Linked DNA regions of Homo sapiens: region 2 is linked to region 1. The links are contacts of gene promoters, found by promoter capture Hi-C in blood cells and fetal thymus (Javierre and others, 2016). All regions are on one chromosome and are shown on one strand. The core of a region is centred on a gene start or on the middle of the fragment in contact, and the rest is flanking DNA. Distances in the headings are between cores, read along the strand shown. Region 1 holds the start of HLX (H2.0 like homeobox). Region 2 overlaps LOC105372932 (a long non-coding RNA gene).

Region 1 (5,007 bases), core at 1,047-3,546:
CAGACATAAACTCGCCAAGCACAAGTGTTTGAGGTCATCCCAAAATGTGTATATGCTAATAAGCAACATTGATGCTGCATTTTTCAAGCCCTCTGGGGCGAAAAGACTTCGAGAAAGCCCCCCACCCCACCGTCCACGCACACACTTTCTGGGATCTCCAGGCGCCTCTACCCCTTTTCAAGGGGAACCATCCGAAGCGAGCGCTAGCTCGCTGAGAAATCTTTCGGTTTCTCTCTCCTGACTCCGTAGCCTCCCGCCCCAATTGTGAGATTGCGACACCGTGGCAGCCCTGGAGGCGTCAGTCCTGAGATTTCTGACTGTTAGTCGGCTCGCCCGTTAGGCAGTACTCTGGAGTTTTTCCGTACCTGGAAACGTGTCTTGGAACTGATGCTGAACTGAATTTCTTGGGTTCGAGTTTAAGGGACTCAGGATTGCAGAAGCCTCGTTAATGGGATCTAGAGATGCGAAGAACTGGCCGGCCGAGGGCTGCAGGCCTGAGAGGTGCACCCCGGCGGGCCGCCCACCGGTTAGCAGGGAAGTGAGATCTGGGGACAAGGGAAAAGGATAGCAGGTTACATCTCGGGCACACTCACACTCTCCGCTGATTTGTTCCTCCCCTTCCCCTTGCCCTGGATTCACTTTTATTGAGCGAAGTCAAGAGAGAACCCGTCTAGGCGCTGAAACCTCTCTCTCCCAACAGTTGCCAAGGAGCGACGCACGAAAAGTTCCTGTGTGTCCCTCACGTCCATATGCATGTATATAGTAAGTAAAGGCTTTACATAAATCGGCTTACGGCCTCACTTTCACGTGTCTTCCAAGAACGCCACAGACGCAAAACCTCCGCCCCAAGGTGGCCCCACTCTGCCCGCTCATCTAGGCGGTTTTGTTTATTATTTACATTTCCTGGGTGAAATTTTTACTAGAAATCAGATAAGTGCGAAAGTGTTTCCCAAAAATGCTTTAGCTGTCAGAAAATATAATTCTGTCTCTAGATACATTATTAAAGAGATCAAAGTCATGTTAGCAGATAATTACACCAACCACTTTTATAAATATTGATTCTAAGACGTGTTTTTAAAGAATCCCTGGAGTCATTTTTTGTTTGTTTTACATAGAACAGGTGAGTTTTAGACCTAATGTTTTGTAGTTTTCTTACAATTCGTTTTCTTCTCTCCCGTTTTACCGATTTGTCCTTAATTGTAAAAACACTCAAAGGCACCCCAAGCCAGCCCGGGGTCCGGGGAGTGGGTCAGTGGTCAGAGGCCTGCAGCCTCCCGCCCAAGACCTACCTCTCAGCGTGTTGCCTTCTTTGACTTTTGGGTCAAATTCTGCAGATAAAATGCGGTCAATTCCAAATTTGAGGTCTTTGCTGGAGGGGGCCGGGGCAGAGCCACTGTGGTGGGGGTTCGGAACCACTCGCGTCCCCGAGGCCGGGGGCTGCAGGGCGCCAGCCCGGGGCGGAGGCGGAGGCTGTTGCTGCTGCGGCTGTTGCTGCTGCTGTTGTTGTTGCGGGTGATGGTGGTGGTAGGCGGCTGAGAGCGGAGACAGCCGCTGCGGGAAGCCAGCCGGGACTTCGGAGGGCGCCACCACTGGGGTGGGTCGAAGCGGGGATCTGGCCGCCGCTTGGAAAGAGGCGTGCGGGTGAACCGAGCCCAAGTGCGCGGTGAGGGCGGCGGCCGAGGCCCCTGCCAGGCCCTCCGGGGCCGCCCCCAGATCCCCCACGCCGGCGTGCAGAATGTCTGCGATGCAGAAGGAGGGCTTTTTGACGGCGGCGGGGTCCAAGGGGAAGGAGCAGCCGCCTGGGCCGGCCGAGGAGCAGTAAGCGGCCGACCAGAGGCTGAAGTTGGAGGCGTAGAAGGGAGCCAGCCCGGCTGCGAACATCCTGCCGGGGTGAGCCGCGCGGCTGCCGCAGTCCAGCCGGACTGGGTGGGTGGGCGCGCGGGGAGGGGCGCGCGAGTCCCGGAGAAGGCGGCGGCAGCCGAGGACGATCCGCTTTCGCTTCTCCGCCCGCACTGAGGAAGAGAGGCCGGGAGCCCTAGCGCCACCGAGGGAGGAGGCGAGGGCCGGATCTCGGCCGGTCACCGCCTCGCTCCCTGGCCTCGCTTTAAAGGCGGCGCGGCGCCCGCACTCCTCGCGGGCTGGATGAGAGCGAGGGGCGCTGGGGCCGCAGGGCGGGCGGGGGAGCCAGGGAGACGGGAGCCGGACACCGCAAGAAAACCCAAATAGCTAAGCCCTAAGAGCTAAATTTAAAACAACAACAATAATAGTCCGTTAGTTAGGGGGGGGGAAAAGTAATAGAAAAAAAAAAAAACTCGTCTCTAAAAACTCCCAAAGTTTTGGCAGGAGCTTTCGAGTCAGGCCCGGGGTAGGACCTCGATCCGAGCGCTCATTGGTCATCCTCGTGACCAATGGGAGCGGGGAGTGGAGGGGAATTAGGAACAAGGGGGCCTGGCCGGACCCTAGCCACGCCCCGGCCACGCCAAAGTTTTTGCTGCGGCCGCGTGGGCTTAGTAGCGCACATCGCAGTGCTTCTTGCTACTCTGCGTAGGGGCCAGGCAGCCGCTCCGGAGGGCTCTGACTCTCTTCTAACTTCTGCAGCTCCGAACCGCCACGGGGCAAGGAGGGTTGATCACAGGAGCTTTCCTGAAGCGCTTGTCACCCGGGGCGAGTTGGGGGCGTGGGGAAGGGACGGTAATCTCACTCTTTAGGGCTCTGCAAAGCCCGCCTCCCGGTGGAGAGCGGAGCGCGCTTTGGCCCCTTTGCTTCCCTTCTCTTGACCTCATTCTGCTTTTATTCCAGGAGTCCGTGTCCTCGGCAAAGCCCCTCATCTTTCCTGGGCCCTTGCCCAAATGTTGCCGCCCTGAGTCCCGGCCCAACTCAGCACCGCGTCCGCCTCGTGCCTCCCAGGAGATCCTCCGGGAAGCGAGGAGGAGGGGCGGCCGCAAATTGGTTTTATTCTGAGCTGTCACACAGTGACAAATTGAACGAGTGACTTTTCAAACAAAATAAGACGGATGGCTCCAAACGTCTCTCTTAGACGCAGCCAAACCTTTCCCCGGAGCCTCAGAGGCTACAAAACAGGCTGCCTCCCGAAACCCGGGAGAGCGGCACGCGCTTCCATCCTTTGCAGGAGGTTGTAGGAAATGTTAGCCTCACCCCTCCACCACATCTCCGGATCACGTGGGGTTCGTTGTTTTGCAAGTGCCCACAAGAGCAGATTTCCGTGGGGTTCAATACTGCTTTCAATTCTGTGACAGCTTCCCCAGGAACCCCTTGGGCCTGGTTGCAGGAGGAGCTGCGTGGTGGTCAACGTCTTCCATTCGTGCCTTGGGTCTTTAGAACGCAGGGTAGTGGTGGTGGAGGTTTTGTGCAACATCGACATATCTATTTTAAGAATTTCTTCTCTTTAAATTATAGTCAGAATGAATTTCCCCACCCCTCTCCCAAACAAACCACAGGCCACCCAGATGAGCTGTTCTTGCACATTTTCAGGAAGAAAATAAAATAATACGAATAATGAAACCACGAAAACTTTTGTTTTCGATTGCCCTAATAAGCATCTCCTAACAGGGATTCTGTGACATTTTTATTTCCCTTCAGCACGAAGGCTCCTCACCAAATAAACCCAGAAAAGCAAGTGAACTTGCCATGCCTATCTCGAGTTCAGGGTTTGGGCTTATAAAATTAATTTCTGGTGTTTTCTCTAGCCCCTTGATGCAGATGCTATCCTTTTAAGCTTTTGACTTTCTCCTGGAAAATTATCAATCACTTCTGATCAGCCAGCACTAAGATCTCTCCCTCTCCCTCTCTCTCTCCCTCCTCCCGCCCTCCAGCTCTCCCGCTCTCGCTCTCCATCTCTCTTTTACTGAAAGGTTTTCTTCCCCTGCTCCACGCAACCAGGAGAGAGGTGCTATTTCCAGAGATAGATGGGTGTGTTTGGCTGAAGGTAGGGGTACCTGGGGCGAGAGACGTATTAAGACCAGTTTTTCTGTGTCAAGGTGAAGGCAAAGGAGCGACAAGTACAACATGGGCAATTGAGGCGCTGGCTGAGGGTTCTGGTGAGCCTTCGGTGGGAGTGTGCGTAGCGGAGGCCGTGAGCCCTCTGCTTTCTAGTGCCACTTCCAGTTTGATTGCGTTTCTAATTTGACTGCAAACATTTAGACCTCAGCCTAAGCCCAAACTCACGGTTGTGAAAGAGGTGCATTTACTCCTTACCCGAGGCAGCGCCGCGCGCCCTCACCCTCTCTCTTAAGAAATAAGACTCCCCTATCAGCTTTCACCCTTTCCAAGGTTTGCGACGCTCCGGGGTGGGCACGGGATACAGACCCGGGGGAATGCGAGTCCTCAGGGTTCCCTAGGTGCCCACAACTCGCATCTGCCGAGATTCAAGGCCCGGAGCGCTGGGCAGATGCGGCGAAAGCGAGGCCCCGAGGCCCGCCGACTCCTCGCGGCGCCGCGAGCCTCCCTTTCTCCGCCAGGCCCGCGGCTGGAGTGCAAGTTGCAACTTCGCCTGCGCGCCCCTTGCTCTCCCAGGCCTCAGCTTCCTCGCAACCGCGTCGGCGCCATCCAAGGCCTTACTCCCAGCTCCCGGAGGCAAACGCGAAATACAAGTCTTTGGAGCGACCCCCGCCGCCCCCTCTACCCCTTCCCCAGGCCCAAGCCTGGCCCCTGCAGGCCCCTCGCCGAGTTCTGAGCCCGCAGACTCCCGCCCTCCTTACTCCCCACTCTTCAGAACCAAGAAAGCAGCAGGAAACCCTGGGCTCGCCGGAGTTCAGGTCATCTCCTGTTTTTTGATGGGCTCAAACTCGGGACTAAATGAGCGGATGTGCCTGCGAGATTGGTCTCAAAATAGAAGCGGCCTTAGTATTTTAGGATACTGCAGAAATCCTTATTTCTTCCGGAGAAAAACTCTATAATGACTCCTAGCACTTCCCCTTTCAATATTTGTGCAACTTTATCTCCACCGGCAAGTTGCTCGGGTGACGCAAATCCGCCCTTATGTATTAC
Region 2 (5,007 bases), core at 1,802-4,301, 510 kb before region 1:
AAATGCTCCCTTCGTGGGTGGGCATCCGCTGAGTTTGGTGAATTTGATCAGCTGTTTTTCTTTCTCCTCTAACAGGACAGTATGAGTTTAGTGCCTCACAACTGCTGTGTTCTCCCTCTCCCAGCACCTAGAGAAGCTCTCTGCATCACACCTCTGCTGCCAGGGTGGGGTAGGGGTGGCATCAGCCATTCAGGAGTGTATTTTCTATTTATTCAGCACCTCTTTCAGTGATACGAAGTCATAACCAGGTACTGTGAGTGTTCACCTGATTTTTGGTTTGTATGAAGGTGTTTTTTTCTGTGTAGATAGTTGTTAACTTGGTGTCTTTGGTGGGGATGTGGGGAGGGAAAGCAATCAGTGGAGCTTTGTATTCTACCATCTTACTCCACCTCTCCTATGTATGTTTTCTTTTGTTGCCCATGCTTTTGGTATGAGTGTGGTAAGATATGGTGGTTTTATGGGGAAGAGATGGACAAGGAGGAAGGGATATAGCATGTCAAAACACCAGGCAAATTCAAATTTTACAGTAGTCATTTTCATTTCAATATGTGCCTTAGTTTCTCTCATGGGTCATAGGGAACTGTCCATTGGTTGCCTCCCTACACAGGGGAGATCTTCTGCCTCCCGGGGCCTCTTCAGAGCTCTCTCTCTTCCCTTTCTCTCTGTCTCTCTCTGTCTCTCTGTCTCTCTGTCCCTCTCTCTCTCATTACATTCCAAAACACTTCCTTTCCTAGGCAGACAAGTTTAGCCATTTTTCTTGGAAGCCTTGACTATTGCCCACAGAGCATTCAATCCCCAGGGGCTCAGAAACTTATATTTACAAATGAAGAGAATTCCCTCCCTAAGAGAAATTGTGACGACTATTAAGATAATAAGTTTCCACATCCTTAAAGAGGACAAAATTGGGGCAAGGGAGAAGGCCAGAGAAAGACATCTTTGTTTTGGATATTGCAGCAGGATAGTAACATGCTGGAGGTCCGCAATGGCACAAAGATCACAGGAGAAGCATCCATGCCAGATTTGGAGGGTATTCTAGTCATCTGCATGGAAAAATATCTCTCCACACTTGCCACCAGAAAACAACAGCCATTTATTTGCTTACAATTCAGACAGAGCACAGTGGGGATAGCTCATCTCTACTCCGCAATTTCCAGGCATGAGCTAGGATGGCTGACCAGTAACAGCTGGCTGGGACAATTTAACAGAAGCCATATGGGTAAGTTCTCATTATTCTCTGACTTCTTTGGTTCTCCTCCATGTGGTGCTTCCTTCAGCTAGCTTGTGCTTCCTCACAATATGGTGATTCCAAGGGAGCGGAACTTATATGTCAGCTGATTTTTCAGAGATATAACATGTAACCTGCTAGTCTTCTTTAGGTTTGAGCTCAGGATTCTTAAAACATAATTCTTGTTTCATAGAAAACCACAAGAGGGGAGCAAATAGATTCTACCACTTGAGGGAGCGGGGGTTCTTCATAAAATGGAAGTAACATGGAAAAAGGCTTCAGGTAGACACTTCTGATTATAAAGGAGGAATGTCCCAGAATGGGAATCAGGAAGAAGCTTTCTTTCCAAGTTGCATCCAGTCTTCCACACTTAAATTCTTAAACTTTCATTCCTCAGTAGATACAAGACACATTCAATTCTCTTTTTGAGTCCTGAACCACCAGCAAACATCACCTTACCTGAAAGCATTGTGGCAATTGTTCTTATTCTCTCCAGTATCGTGTTGTCTCTGGTGCTGGGGACATCAGGCATTCCACTGTGGGTTCTGAAAATCTGGGGTGAGCTTTATTCATTTTGGCCTCAGCTCAGATTTTTTGGAAAAGTGTTCCTCAAGATCATGGACAGAACCAAGGGTTCCACTGTGGAAAACCTACACTGGGGATTTTCATTGTTCTCTTTAAATGTCTAAGCTGTTTCTTCAGATCTGTGACAGCTGCCAGCCAGGATGAGGGATGGAGCTCATGAGGTGGGATGTTTTTCCCTGTTTCATTGTGCTTTATTGTACATAACAAAGGATCTAGCCAGCTGCTGTGTGGAAGAGAGTAAGATGCTCAGAAAGCCCTCTTTCTTGGTCTGTTATGCGATTCTGAGAAAGGAAGCTCAGGCAAGATCAATACATCCTCCGTGTGGACGTCAAATGGCTTGTGACATTGGTTCTTCAGGGCTGTTTTTTTAAGGATATTCCAGTCTTATGAGTTTGACATGAATTTGGCTTGATGCCCTGACAGAATGCAATGTAGGCATAATTTGATCTTCCTGTAATTGTCTATTTAACTTGGCAATCCAGACTAATTTTTTCCTGTGAAGTGAGCCCAAGACGTCACTAGGACAGTGGTTGGGTTAATTAATGAGGCATAATAATGTGCATAATAAAAGTTTATGATGCGGGTTCTCTTCCCACTATTTTCCTCTCCTTCACATAGAGAATTTCTGGTCCCACTGGAATCTGTGAGTCACGGTTTGTTAAAGGAGTTTTTTCTTGTAAACAACAGTAAGGAGAAAATAATAACTTGAGAACCATCTGTTTGATTGAGTCCTTGACTTTTTTTTTTGTTACCATTTCCCCCCATTGCATGTTAAAGGAAGTAAATAGGAAAAAAAAATTCTAATTATATTACTGTTTACTGATTATTGGATAACTTTTGTTGTATTTATTTTAAATACCATTCTGATCCACACCCAAAGCCTTAATCATCTTTCTGCTTACTGCTCCTTCCTACTCTCTCTTCTTTTTCTTTTTAATATGGAACTAATTACTTTAAACACTATTCTCAAGCTTGTTCAAATCCTTACCGCTCAGTGGCACCAGGGATAGATGTGGGGATAATAGCTTTCTTTGGTATCAACAGTGACTTGGGGAAAAGAAGTGTTCTTACAAGCGCCAATGGCAACATCAGAGGACACAAGGCATAAAAGATGGCTTTAAGTCTTAGCAGTTTCACCTGGTATGGCTGAGTTTGCAGAAATCATTAAACATTCTTTTCTTATCTGAAACCGTAGATTCAACAACTTCAATTCTATAAGTAGTTAAGCACGAATAATGTATGCAGCAAGGACTGAGCTAGACCTGGACTTGATAATATGCATATTAACTTTGCCTATCATAAGGAATCAAGTGATAAGATCCAGTGAGAGAAAGTAGATGAAAGTTCTCTGTAGACTACAAAGCACTGCCTAAGTCTGAGATATTATTGACACTTTTATCACAGTAAAGCATCTGATAGTTGAATTCACCCACTTACGATTTCAGGGCCAGTTGGTTACCTTATCATCTGGAGTTCAGCAAGGAAATAATAGTGTACCAAGCAAAGCTTGATGTTTGCATTTCTATGCCTAATCCTTTCCCTGAGTGGAGAAATGGTGCCTCTATGTTAGGATCCCCCACGGATGCCATTTTGCTGCTGTCAATGAGCACATGATCTACTTCAGTTGAAAATTCCTTGACTTCACCACTCCAAAATTTTTCTAAAAACTAGTGCCATTCTTGAGCAAAGTCAAATTTTGTTGAAAACAACTTTTGTTAAAAAGAAAGCATAGGCCAGGTGCAGTGGCTCATGCCTGTAATCCCAACATTTTGGAAGGCCGAGGCGGATGGATCACGAGGTCAGGAGATTGAGACCATCCTGGCTAACACAGTGAAACTCCTTCTCTACTAAAAATACAAAAAATTAGCTGGGTGTGGTGGCACGTGCCTGTAGTCCCAGCTACTCAAGAGGCTGAGGCAGGAGAATCTCTTGAACCCAGGAGGTGGAGGTTGCAGTGAGACGAGATTGCACAACTCCACTCCAGCCTGGGCAATGGAGTGAGACTTCATTTCACAAAAAAAAAAAAAACAAAACCCTAAACACTGTGATCAACCTGGCACACTGTCACATTCCTGCTCTTGGCTCTCATTGCTACCAATGTTTGGAAGTTGAAATCTTATTAGAACAAAAGTTTTGGATCAAAATTGTGCATTCCATGTGAGTCATAGGTGATGAAGTCATAATCCAACTTCTAGCTTGCCCAACTTCTTGAAACTAGGCATATCAGGAAACAACAGTATTCATAAAAGGAAAGATTTAACCTGCCCTGCTCCTCACCCTCATCAATTAAGTCACTTTTATACATATGAATAGTAACACTATTAGCTGTTATCCTCTCATAGATCCATTTCCAATTTGGGAGGAGTTATGACAAATGTTTATATTGCTGCTTCCAAATAACCTTAGAAATACTCTCTGCACATAGTATTTGTAAATTATGGTTAATTGAAAAGAATTTATTTTGAGAATTAGTCAAGGAGTTAGAACTATCAAAGAAGAAAAAGTGGATGTCACTAAAAAATATCACCTGGAGAATGAAAAATTAGGGCTTAGTATCACTGTTCTAACTCAAAGTGCAGAGATGCTAATACACCAATAAAGACAGTGCCCATCTTCTAAAAGTTTACCATTTTAGACAACAGCAATCTGCATAAATATATGAAGGAAGTTGCTGGGGCTCCAAAAATAATACCCCAAAATGAAAGCCTCAGAAGCAAAAGTTTTTCTCTGACCTTCTCCTGCCCCCCTAACTCTCAGTCCCATTCTCTCCCAAGGTGAGAATCTGTAGAAACTAGAGAATTCTTTAGAAACTAGAAGCCCTCTTCTCTAAGGCAGGTCATAGAAACCAGAACCTCTTTTCCACAAAGCCAGCCATAAAACCTAAAAATATTGCTCTAACTTTCCCTCTATCTTTCTGCGTAAAAATTGACCATAAAGAAATTACCTGGGCTAACATTTTTGACTGTAGGTCATAAGATCCTCATTCCAGAGAGGCTTCTGCCCTATATCCAGAAGGAAGGAATGCATGCTCAGAGAGGCCAAGCAGAATCTAGACAGGCCTTGCTGGGTTTCCTCAGTCCATCTATTAGCATTACATCATACCCTTTTTTTCCATTCATATTTCTACATAGCTGTCTGCGGAATTTTGTTGAACCTAAGCATAAAAATGGACAATTTCCTCTGTATCTTTGGGTCTT

Evidence for each region. The method cuts DNA at HindIII sites, captures the fragments that hold promoters and counts their contacts. A CHiCAGO score of 5 or more calls a contact.
Region 2: a fragment that was not itself captured here is called in contact with the fragment with the promoter of HLX in region 1 in 1 of 17 cell types (endothelial precursors); the score reaches 10.6 in endothelial precursors.

What each region holds. Positions count from the first base shown.
Region 1 is chr1:220,876,732-220,881,738 of GRCh38, reverse strand. HLX (H2.0 like homeobox) reads right to left here and starts at 2,296. Exons shown (of 4, transcript NM_021958.4): 1 at 1,290-2,296; 2 at 366-545. The coding sequence starts at 1,881. HLX-AS1 (HLX antisense RNA 1) reads left to right here and starts at 1,599. Exons shown (of 3, transcript NR_046901.1): 1 at 1,599-1,890. RefSeq lists an enhancer at 963-1,571 and a silencer at 2,690-2,739. The HindIII fragment of the contact is 7,579 bases long and covers 1-3,738 here.
Region 2 is chr1:221,391,551-221,396,557 of GRCh38, reverse strand. The region is part of intron 3 of LOC105372932 (a long non-coding RNA gene); the gene reads right to left. Among named protein-coding and RNA genes, the nearest start is that of LINC02817, 58 kb to the right of the region's middle. The HindIII fragment of the contact is 535 bases long and covers 2,784-3,318 here.